2 separate regions of the Homo sapiens genome follow, and region 2 is linked to region 1. The links are contacts of gene promoters, found by promoter capture Hi-C in blood cells and fetal thymus (Javierre and others, 2016). All regions are on one chromosome and are shown on one strand. The core of a region is centred on a gene start or on the middle of the fragment in contact, and the rest is flanking DNA. Distances in the headings are between cores, read along the strand shown.

The links. Contacts are between HindIII fragments. The CHiCAGO score rates a contact against its expected background, and 5 or more counts as called.
Region 2: a fragment that was not itself captured here is called in contact with the fragment with the promoter of RBM48 in region 1 in 1 of 17 cell types (non-activated CD4 T cells); the score reaches 9.6 in non-activated CD4 T cells.

Annotation. Positions count from the first base shown.
Region 1 is chr7:92,526,538-92,531,268 of GRCh38, forward strand. RBM48 (RNA binding motif protein 48) reads left to right here and starts at 2,258. Exons shown (of 5, transcript NM_032120.4): 1 at 2,258-2,387; 2 at 2,939-3,129. The coding sequence starts at 2,277. PEX1 (peroxisomal biogenesis factor 1) reads right to left here and starts at 1,983. Exons shown (of 24, transcript NM_000466.3): 1 at 1,770-1,983. The coding sequence starts at 1,898. RefSeq lists enhancers at 1,402-1,581, 2,182-2,561 and a silencer at 1,812-2,041. The HindIII fragment of the contact is 3,452 bases long and covers 2,070-4,731 here.
Region 2 is chr7:144,835,531-144,839,852 of GRCh38, forward strand. It overlaps TPK1 (thiamin pyrophosphokinase 1), which reads right to left and starts at 523. Exons shown (of 9, transcript NM_022445.4): 1 at 437-523; 2 at 30-88. The coding sequence starts at 72. RefSeq lists a silencer at 264-363 and an enhancer at 664-733. The HindIII fragment of the contact is 227 bases long and covers 1,169-1,395 here.

The DNA of each region.
Region 1 (4,731 bases), core at 1,008-3,507:
TGATGTTTTCTAAACAAAGATGTGTTATTTTCAACGTCTGATTAAAATATAGTTTATCACTTCTAATGCCTAAAAATTAAGTACAATCTAAATGGTCAATCATAGTAAACAATTAAATAAATTATGGCAAATTTGTGCTAGAATACTAATTAACAACTTAAAATGATGACCTTTTAACAAAATAAAACACTCATAATAACATTAAATAAAAACACCAGGACACAAAACTGTACGTGTGTATACAGGACCTCATTTATGTTAAAAATAAAGATTAGAAACAAAACTGGAAGATTTGATCCAAACTGTCAACATTAGTCACCTCTAAGTTCTGGGATTATGGGTAACTTATTTTCTTGTTAATAATTTTCCATGCTTTCCAAATTTTCTATAAAACATAAATTCTATAAATTTATATAATTCATCGAGGAATAAATGTATAGATTTATGGAATCTATAAAGTAATAAACTTATTACATTGATAATTAGAAAGTAAAGTTGACCTATTCTGCTAATATGGGCTGAACAGAAACAGCAATTTGTTCCAGGGCTAAAGACATTTACATTTCAAAAAGATATGCATGAATTAATTCTTATAAGTACTTCCCGAAGGCTCAAAATTTAAAACAAAGATCAAGACCACTAAATTCTTAAACAGTGATGAATGTAAGGTAACAACTACATCTTAGGATCAAATTAGAGTTACTGTAAGAAAGCATTCCTACTATTAAGTGCAGATTTGAAAACATGTTGAAAAATCCCATCGAAGCTGACAGAGCACTGAACCAACTTCTACCTGGAACTTGGTGACAGTGACTGATTTGTCTCTAGCCATAAAGCCCATCAAAAACCAAAAGATTGTCTACTTAGTGGTAAAAAATAATAACGACGATGATAGGAGGATTCTGCTGAACTCATGTTTTCAGTGGACCAAAAATATCTTCCCCTAGGTATGGGGAAGTAACTCAAGTGGAAAGAAGGGATGCTTGAAATTATTGCAAACTCTATTCATTGCATAGATTAGCCACTGGTGGGTACCATGCATCCAGGATTTATGAGGATTTCAAATACGCCGTCCTTTTGCCCCCATAAGTACACTCAAACTCGTGAGACCATGTGCCTCTATTTTTAATTATGAAAATATGGACGCTGTATCTCCACCAGTGGTTAGAACTGTGAAACATCCTAACCACAACGTCCAGAAGGGCGACTGATCGCAGAGCTTCAAGTGATCTTAACTACGTTATGTGTTCCTAACACACTACAGCTGTGTTCCGCGTCAGCGACGCAGGGCAGAACCATCATTGTATTAACCTTTCCCGCTCATGGGACGCGGTGCTTAGTCCCCGGGAACCGACAGGGGCTCCGCCAACAACTCTGCGTCCCGCTCTCGCGGCCCGGACGGCAGCAGCGCAGGTTAACTGGAAATGGCTGGCAAGGAAAACACCTTTTAAAATAATAAAAACAAACCACTTCTCAGGAGCTTTTCCAGCCTGGAATAAGGAATATTTATAAAAACAGTGGTAGAATATTAGGACGTTTCTAGGTTCAGTTTCACCAAGTGAAAAGACCTGGGATAAGACGAGCCCAGGGCTGCACTGGACTTGTGGGATCCAGAGACTACCCAGAAGGGCCCTGCCGTCGAGGGACCCTGATCTCTGCGCGCTTCGGCGGCGCCCGGGTGGCAGCCGGTGTCCCGCCGCGTCCCTGAGAGGCTTCGGCCTCGTCCGACCCCAGGCTGAAGATCAGGTGGCTCGGGGCCGGCAGGTTACCTGCAGCAGATGCAGCTGGGCCACGAGACGCCGCGGCAGGTGGAGGAAGCAGTCGCGAGCGTTGGTGAAGGCCACAGTCACTGCCGCCCCGCCTCCCCCAGCACCCGCCAGGCGATCGCTGCCCCACATCGTCCCGGAGCGTCGCTCTGGGTTCGCCCACCCTAGCGCCGCAAAGGACCCGGGACCCGGCAGGCCGAGGACGTCGGAGCCGGAGGAGATCGATCGGCCCCGCCCCCTGCGGCCCCGCCCCCTCTCCCCGCTGCGCATCCTGCCGTAAGCCTGTAGTGGGTGGGACAAGAAAGCTTCTGTCACCCACCGCGCCTCTCCGCCGAGCCGCTCGGGGGCGGCACCTCGTTCATCAAATCTTCGCACGCAGGAAACGATGGCCGACGCTGTCGATTCTCCAGCCAATCCTGGCACTCCTTAACTCATCCCGCTCTCTTATTGGATAAAAGGGAGCTCAGTAGGGCGGATGTTGTCCTCCCTGCGAGGATCAAAGTAGGCAAGATGGCGTCGAGCGGCGGGGAGCTAGGGAGTTTATTTGATCACCACGTCCAGAGGGCGGTATGCGACACACGGGCCAAATATCGAGAGGGACGACGGCCTCGTGCTGTGAAGGTAAAGTGATTTTGGTTTCATTCGCTCTCCTCGGTAGCTTTATGTGAGTGCTAGCGCCATATGACCAGCCTACGGAAATAAAGGCACGACAAGGCTTCCGTCAGATCTGTCTCTCGTTAGAGCTGGCGTGAAGAACCCTCGGTCAGTTACCAAAGATTCTCACGACGCCTTTGGTCAAGTATTAGAACATCAACTCCACGAGAATAGGCCTTGGTTTTAGTCATTGGATCTTCTGTGTTTACAGTACTACTTGGCACAGGTAAGCACTCAGTGAATATTCGTTGAGTGATTGTTCCCAGTGACTTCTACCGACTCAATTTCTGGAAAAAAATGTCGACTGAAGGTAGTCTGTTATATGCCTTAGGTAGCCTCTCACATGGACTGTTATTCTTTATGCAGAAGGAATGGCAGAAATTTCATTTTGTGTTCTTTTGCTGACTGGGTTGAACAGATTATTTCTTGTTTTCAAAGTTCTCTTTAAAAAAAAATAGAGGCAGATTCGTCCTAGGCTTATTTGCGAAATACGTTTAATAACTCTGCATTTCTTTCAGGTATATACAATCAATTTGGAATCTCAGTACTTATTAATACAAGGAGTTCCTGCTGTGGGAGTCATGAAGGAATTAGTTGAGCGATTCGCTTTATATGGTGCAATTGAACAGTACAATGCTCTAGATGAATACCCAGCAGAAGACTTTACTGAAGTTTATCTTATTAAATTTATGAACTTACAAAGTGCAAGGTAATGTGCAAGTTAAGAAATGACTCATTTCCTCATTTCTTCCATTCATATTTCTGTCATTTTGGCCCCAAGTTTCCCTCATTCATAACTGAATTACCCCAAAACGTAATCTAGCATATCTTCCTCCAGCCTTTTTAAAAGTTAACTTTACTGAAACACTGTATCCATCACATCATTCCCATGCTTAACAATTTAATGTCCTGTAGCTTGGTAGAGTAGAAGTTGGGTTTGGCCAGGCACGGTGGCTCACGCCTGCAATCCCAGCACTCTGGGAGACCGAGGTGGGCGGATCACGAGGTCAGGAGTTTGAGACCAGCCTGGCCAACATGGTGAAACCCCCCTCTCTACTAAAAATACAAAATTAGCTGGGTCTAGTGGCGCAGGCCTGTAATCCCAGCTACTCGGGAGGCTGAGGCAGGAGAATCGCTTGAAACCGGGAGGCAGAGGTTGCAGTGAGCCGAGATTGCGCCATTGCACTCCAGACAGGGCAACAAGAGGGAAGCTCTGCCTCAAAAAAAAAAAAAAAAAAAAAATTTGGGTTTGAAGCCTGGGCGTGGTGACTCACGCCTGTAATCCCAGCACTTTGGGAGACCGAGGCAGGCAGATCACTTGAGGTCAGGGGTTCAAGACAAGCCTGGCCAACATGATGGAAACCCCTCCTCTACTAAAAATACAAAAATTAGCCGGGTGTGGTGGTGCGGACCTGTAGTCCCAGCTACTCAGGTGGCTGAGGCATGGGAATTGCTTGAACCTGGGAGGTGGAGATTGCAGTGAGCAGAGATCATGCCACTGCCCTCCAGCCTAGATGACAGAGCAAGGCTCTGTCTCAAAAAAAAAAAAAAATTCTGGTTTGACGCCAGGCACGTGGCTCACACCTGTAATCCCAGCACTTTGGGAGGTCGAGGTAGGTGGATCACCTGAGGTCAGGAGTTCAAGACCAGTCTGGCCAACATGGTGAAACCCTCACTCTACTAAATACAAAAATTAGCCGGCTGTGTTGGTGCAAACCTTTAATCCCAGCTCCTGGGGAGGCTGAGGCACAAGTATCACTTGAACCCAGAAAGTGGAGGTTGCAGTGAGCCAAGATCATGCCATTGCACTCCAGCCTGGGCAAGAGTGAGACTGTCTCAAAAAAAAAAAAAGAAAAAGTTGGATTTGATCCCAGCACTTTGGAAGGCCAAGGTAGGCAGATTGCTTGAGCCCAGGAGTTCGAGACCAGACTGGCCAACATGGCCAGTATTTTGTATTTTGTAAAAATACAAAAATCAAGCTGGGTGTGTTGGTGCATTCCTGTAGTTCCAGCTACTTGGGAGGCCGAGGTAGGAGAATCAGTTGAGCCCAGGAGGTGGAGGTTGCAGTGAGTCTTATGGGCCACTACACTCCATCCTGGGTGATGGAGTGAGACTCTGTCTCAAAAGAAAAAAAAAGTTGGGTTTGGAGTAAGTTTTCCATTTCCACTGCTTACTAGCTTCATGATCTTGGGCAAGTTATTTAACCTGTTTAAGTTTTTCCTCTTCCATAAAATCTGTATGGTAAAGGGACCTATCTACTTCTTGGGGTTGTATGAGGATGAAATGAGATAATCCATATAAAGGTGTATCC
Region 2 (4,322 bases), core at 32-2,531, about 52 Mb after region 1:
ACACTAAACCGTGGAAAGAAATACAGTACCAGTGGAAAGCAGGGGCTCCAACGGGGTAAAGGCATGCTCCATAACGGATTATTGGCCTCTGCATTAAAAAAAAAAAAGTGAAGTTAGACTCTCAGTTTTAATTAAACATCGCGCAGAACCAACAGCACGGGAGCCGCCTGAACCTGGCACTCGGCAGCGGCGCGCTCCGGGACCCAGGAGCCAGCTGAGCTGCGGCGCAGCACCCGGCGCTGGGGACCCGCCACGGCTCGCCTACAGCACCGCCGCGGGCGGGGGCCCCCGGAGACCGGCCGCGCGGGCCGCTATGAGGTCCGAGGGGTTGCCCCTGCCGCCTCTCTCCGCGAACCCATCACCATCCGGGAACCTGGGGAGCGAGAGGCGGCCGCCCCCTTCCGCGGCCCGCGCGCCCGGCAGCAGTCGCACTTACACAATGGCTGGTAGGAGCCACAGACTGGAGATCGCAGGCTGCGGGAGCTACGGCGATCGACCGCTCGGCGCTCGGCTGAGGAGCCTTGGCGCGCGGTCCTCGCTCGCAGGTTTTAGCCCCCGGGACGCGAGGTGGCCCCGCCCGCTTCCGGGAGCCGGAGGCAAGTGGGAGCCGCGCCCTGTGCTCTGCGTCCGGCACTACCCACCTCAAGTCTCCAAGGCTTCGTTTTCTGGGCTGGTTCTGCTAGCTGTAGTACTGCTGCCGGGCCCTCTGCACTCAGCTTTAACAAGGAGGCCATTTGCTTCAAACTAAGTGGCGAATTCCCTATCACCCATGCTTGACCTAGCTTCCAAGCCAAACTTACTTTCCACTGTGCTGCTTCTAGTCCTGCTACCGGTGTCCTCCCTGAGCCGTCGGGTTAAAAGCTTTCCTTCCTGGCCGGGTGCGGTGACTCACGCCTGTAATCCCAGCAGTTTGGGAGGCCGAGGCGGACGGATCATGAGGTCAGAAGTTCGAGACCAGCCTGGCCAGCATGGTGAAACCTCGTCTCTACTAAAAATACAAAAAATTAGCCGGGCATGGTGGCGCGCGCCTGTAGGCCCAGCTACTCGGGAGGCCGAGGCAGGAGAATCGCTTGAACCCGGGAGGCCGGAGGTTGCAGTGAGCCAAGATCACACCAGTGCACTCCAGTCTGGGCGACAAAGCGAGACTCCATCTCAAAGAAAAAAAAAAAGCTTTCTTTAGGGAACACTCCGTTAAGAGCTTTCCTTACTTTGCTTTGTGGAAACAGAATGTTTTTGTTGGAAGAAACTTTAAGCCACCTATCTGCAGCTGCAGAGCGTCACTGTTGCAATACAGGCTTTTCCAATAGTGAGCGAACCTAATCTCCCTCTACCCTCTTAAGGTTTCCACCTGGGCCTAAGAGGTTAAATTGACTTAAGACAGTTTAACAGGGGAAAAGCTTACAGCTATGTGCATGGGAGTCCACAAGAAAAGACCCAAAGAAGGAGGAAGCCTAAATGCTTATATACGGGTTTAGCTACAACAAATTTCAAAAGTCCATGTTTAAATATGACCTTAATGAACCTAAAAGACAATTGGGGTACAAGGAAACTATCTGCACATGTAATAGACAAGTGGTTGCCATGTGTTTATCCTATGAAGAGCTGTTACCAGTTGATGTGTCCAGGTTCTTGGCGTCTTGAACAAAGAATTGGACAAAACGCACAAAGCAAGGAAAGAATGAAGCAAAAACAGAGATTTATTGAAGATGAAAGTACACCCCATAGGTTGGGAGCGCCCGAGGATAGGGGCTCAAGAGTGCCGTTAGAGAATGTTCTGGGGTTTAAATGCCAGCTAGAGGTTTCCATTGGTTACTTGGCTTATGCCCTATGTAAATGAAGAGGATGAAGTAAATTTTAAAGTCATTTACTGGATATAAGCCCTGTGTAAATGGAGAGGATGTTTCCTGTCATTGCTGAAGTACTGCAATTTGATTTAGTTCCAGGAAGTCAGCATGAATCGGCCTTAACATTCCCTGCCTCCAGACCCTATTCTGCCTCAGAACTACATGTCCATTAGTAAAAGGCAAACCAGAAAAATTATGACCAAGGATATAAACAGGCAAGGCAAATTATAGAAGGTAGTCAAATGGCAAAAACACATCACCAATATTCAGAACGAAATCTTGAACAATGAATTCAATGGCAGATTGTAACCAATTTTTTAAGCAGTAATAAAAATTTACACTTACTGATCAATTATTATGTTCCAGTCAGTGTTGAGGTCTTTTATATTTTATTTAATTACCCTAAAATGTAGGCTCCAGGAAAACAAGGACCAAAATTTAGTTGTTGGCCCTTGAATCCTCACTCTAGCACAGTTTACTTGTTAATGATTTGTCTCCCCCTACTAGAGAGCTAGCTCTCTAAGGGCAGGAGCCTTGTCTATTTCCTTCCCTGCTATTTCTCCAGCCACACAGTGTGTCTCACCAAGATAAGTTCAGTAAATGTGAAATAAATTAACAAATAATGGGAAAAAAATGGAGAATTATGGTACTTCATACCAGGAATTACAGGCATACCTCCTTTTATTGTGTTTAGCTTTATTGTGCTTTACAGATACCGCTTTTACAAATTGAAAGTTTGTGGCAAGCCTGCATCAAGCAGGTCTATCTGCAACATTTTTCCGAAAGCGTGTACCTGCTTCGTGTCTCTGCGTCATATTTTGGTAATTTTCACAATACTTCAAATATTTCCATTAATATATTCATTACAATCTGTGATTAGTGATTCTTAATGTTACTCTTGTCATTGTTTTGGGGTGCCACCAGCCATGCCCTTATAAGACGGCAAACTTAATAGATCAATGTTGTGTGTTTCTTACTGCCCCGGGACCAGTACATTCTCCTGTTTCTCTCTCCCCGTGGGCCTCCCTATTCCCTAAGACACGACAGTATTGAAATTAGGCCATTTTATATTCCTACAATGGCCTCTAAGTGTTTAAGTGAAAGGAAGAACTGCATGTGTCTCACTTTAAATCAAAAGCTAGAAATGATCAAGATTAGTGAGAAAGTTTTGTCAAAAGAAAGCTAGGCTTTTTGTATCAGTTAGCCAAGTTGTGAATGCAAAGCAAAAGTTCTTTAAGAAAACTGAAAGTGCTACTCCACTAAACACATGAATGATAAGAAAGATAAACAGCCTTATTGCTATGAAGAAAGTTTGAGTGGTCCGTGTAGAAGATCCAGTTAGCCACAACATTTCCTTGAACCAAAGCCAGATCCAGAGCAAGGCCCTGATTCTGAATTATCTTAAAGTCTGGGAGAAATGAGTAAACTGCAGAAGAAAAGTTTGAAGATAGCAGAGGTTCATGTGGTTTAAGGAAAGAAGCCATCTCCGTAACATAAAAGAGCAAGGTGAAGTTGCAAGTACTGATGAAGAAGCTGTAGCAAGTTGACCAGAAAATCTAGCTAAGATCATTGATGAAGGTGGCCATTTTTCATGGAGATGAAACAACCTTCTATTGGAAGAAGATGACATCTAAGACTTTGATAGCTAGAGAGGAAAAGTCAATACTTGGCTTCAAAGTTTCAAAGGCCAGGCTGACTCACTTGTTAAGGCCTAATGTAGCTGGTGGTTGTCAGTTGGAGCCAGTGCTTGTTTACCATTTTGAAAATCCTAGGGCCCTTAAGAATTATGCTAAATCTGGCCAGGCACGGTGGCTCATGCAGATCACGAGGTCAGGAGTTCGAGACCAGCCTGACCAACATGATGAACCCTTGTCTCTACTAAAAATACAAAAATTAGCTGGGCATAGTGGCAGGTGCCTGTAATCTCAGCTACTCAGGAGGCTGAGGCAGGAGAATCGCTTCAACCTGGGAGGTGGAGGTTTCAGTGAGCTGAAATTGGGCCTGCACTCCAGCCTGGGTGACAGAGAGAGACTCCGTCTCAAAAAAAAAAAAAAAAAAAAAAAAAGAATTATTCTAAATCTACTCTGCCTGTATCTAGAAATGGAACAACGAAGCCTGAATGGCAACACATCTGTTTACAACATGGTTTACTGAATATTTTAAACCCACTATTTTACTGCTCAGAAAAAAAAAATCCTTTACAAATATTACTGTTCATTAATAGTGCACCTGGTCACCCAAAAACTCTGATGGAGATTAATGATTTCATGCCTGCTAACACATCCATTCTGCAGACCATGGATCAAGGAGTGATTTCTACTTTCAAGTCTTATCATTTAAAAAACACATTTTGTAATGCTGTGGTGCCATAGATAGTGATTCCTCTGATGGATCTGGGTACAGTACATTGGAAACCTTCTAGAAAGAATTTGCCATTCTAGATACCATTAAGAACATTCATGATTCATGGGAGGAGGT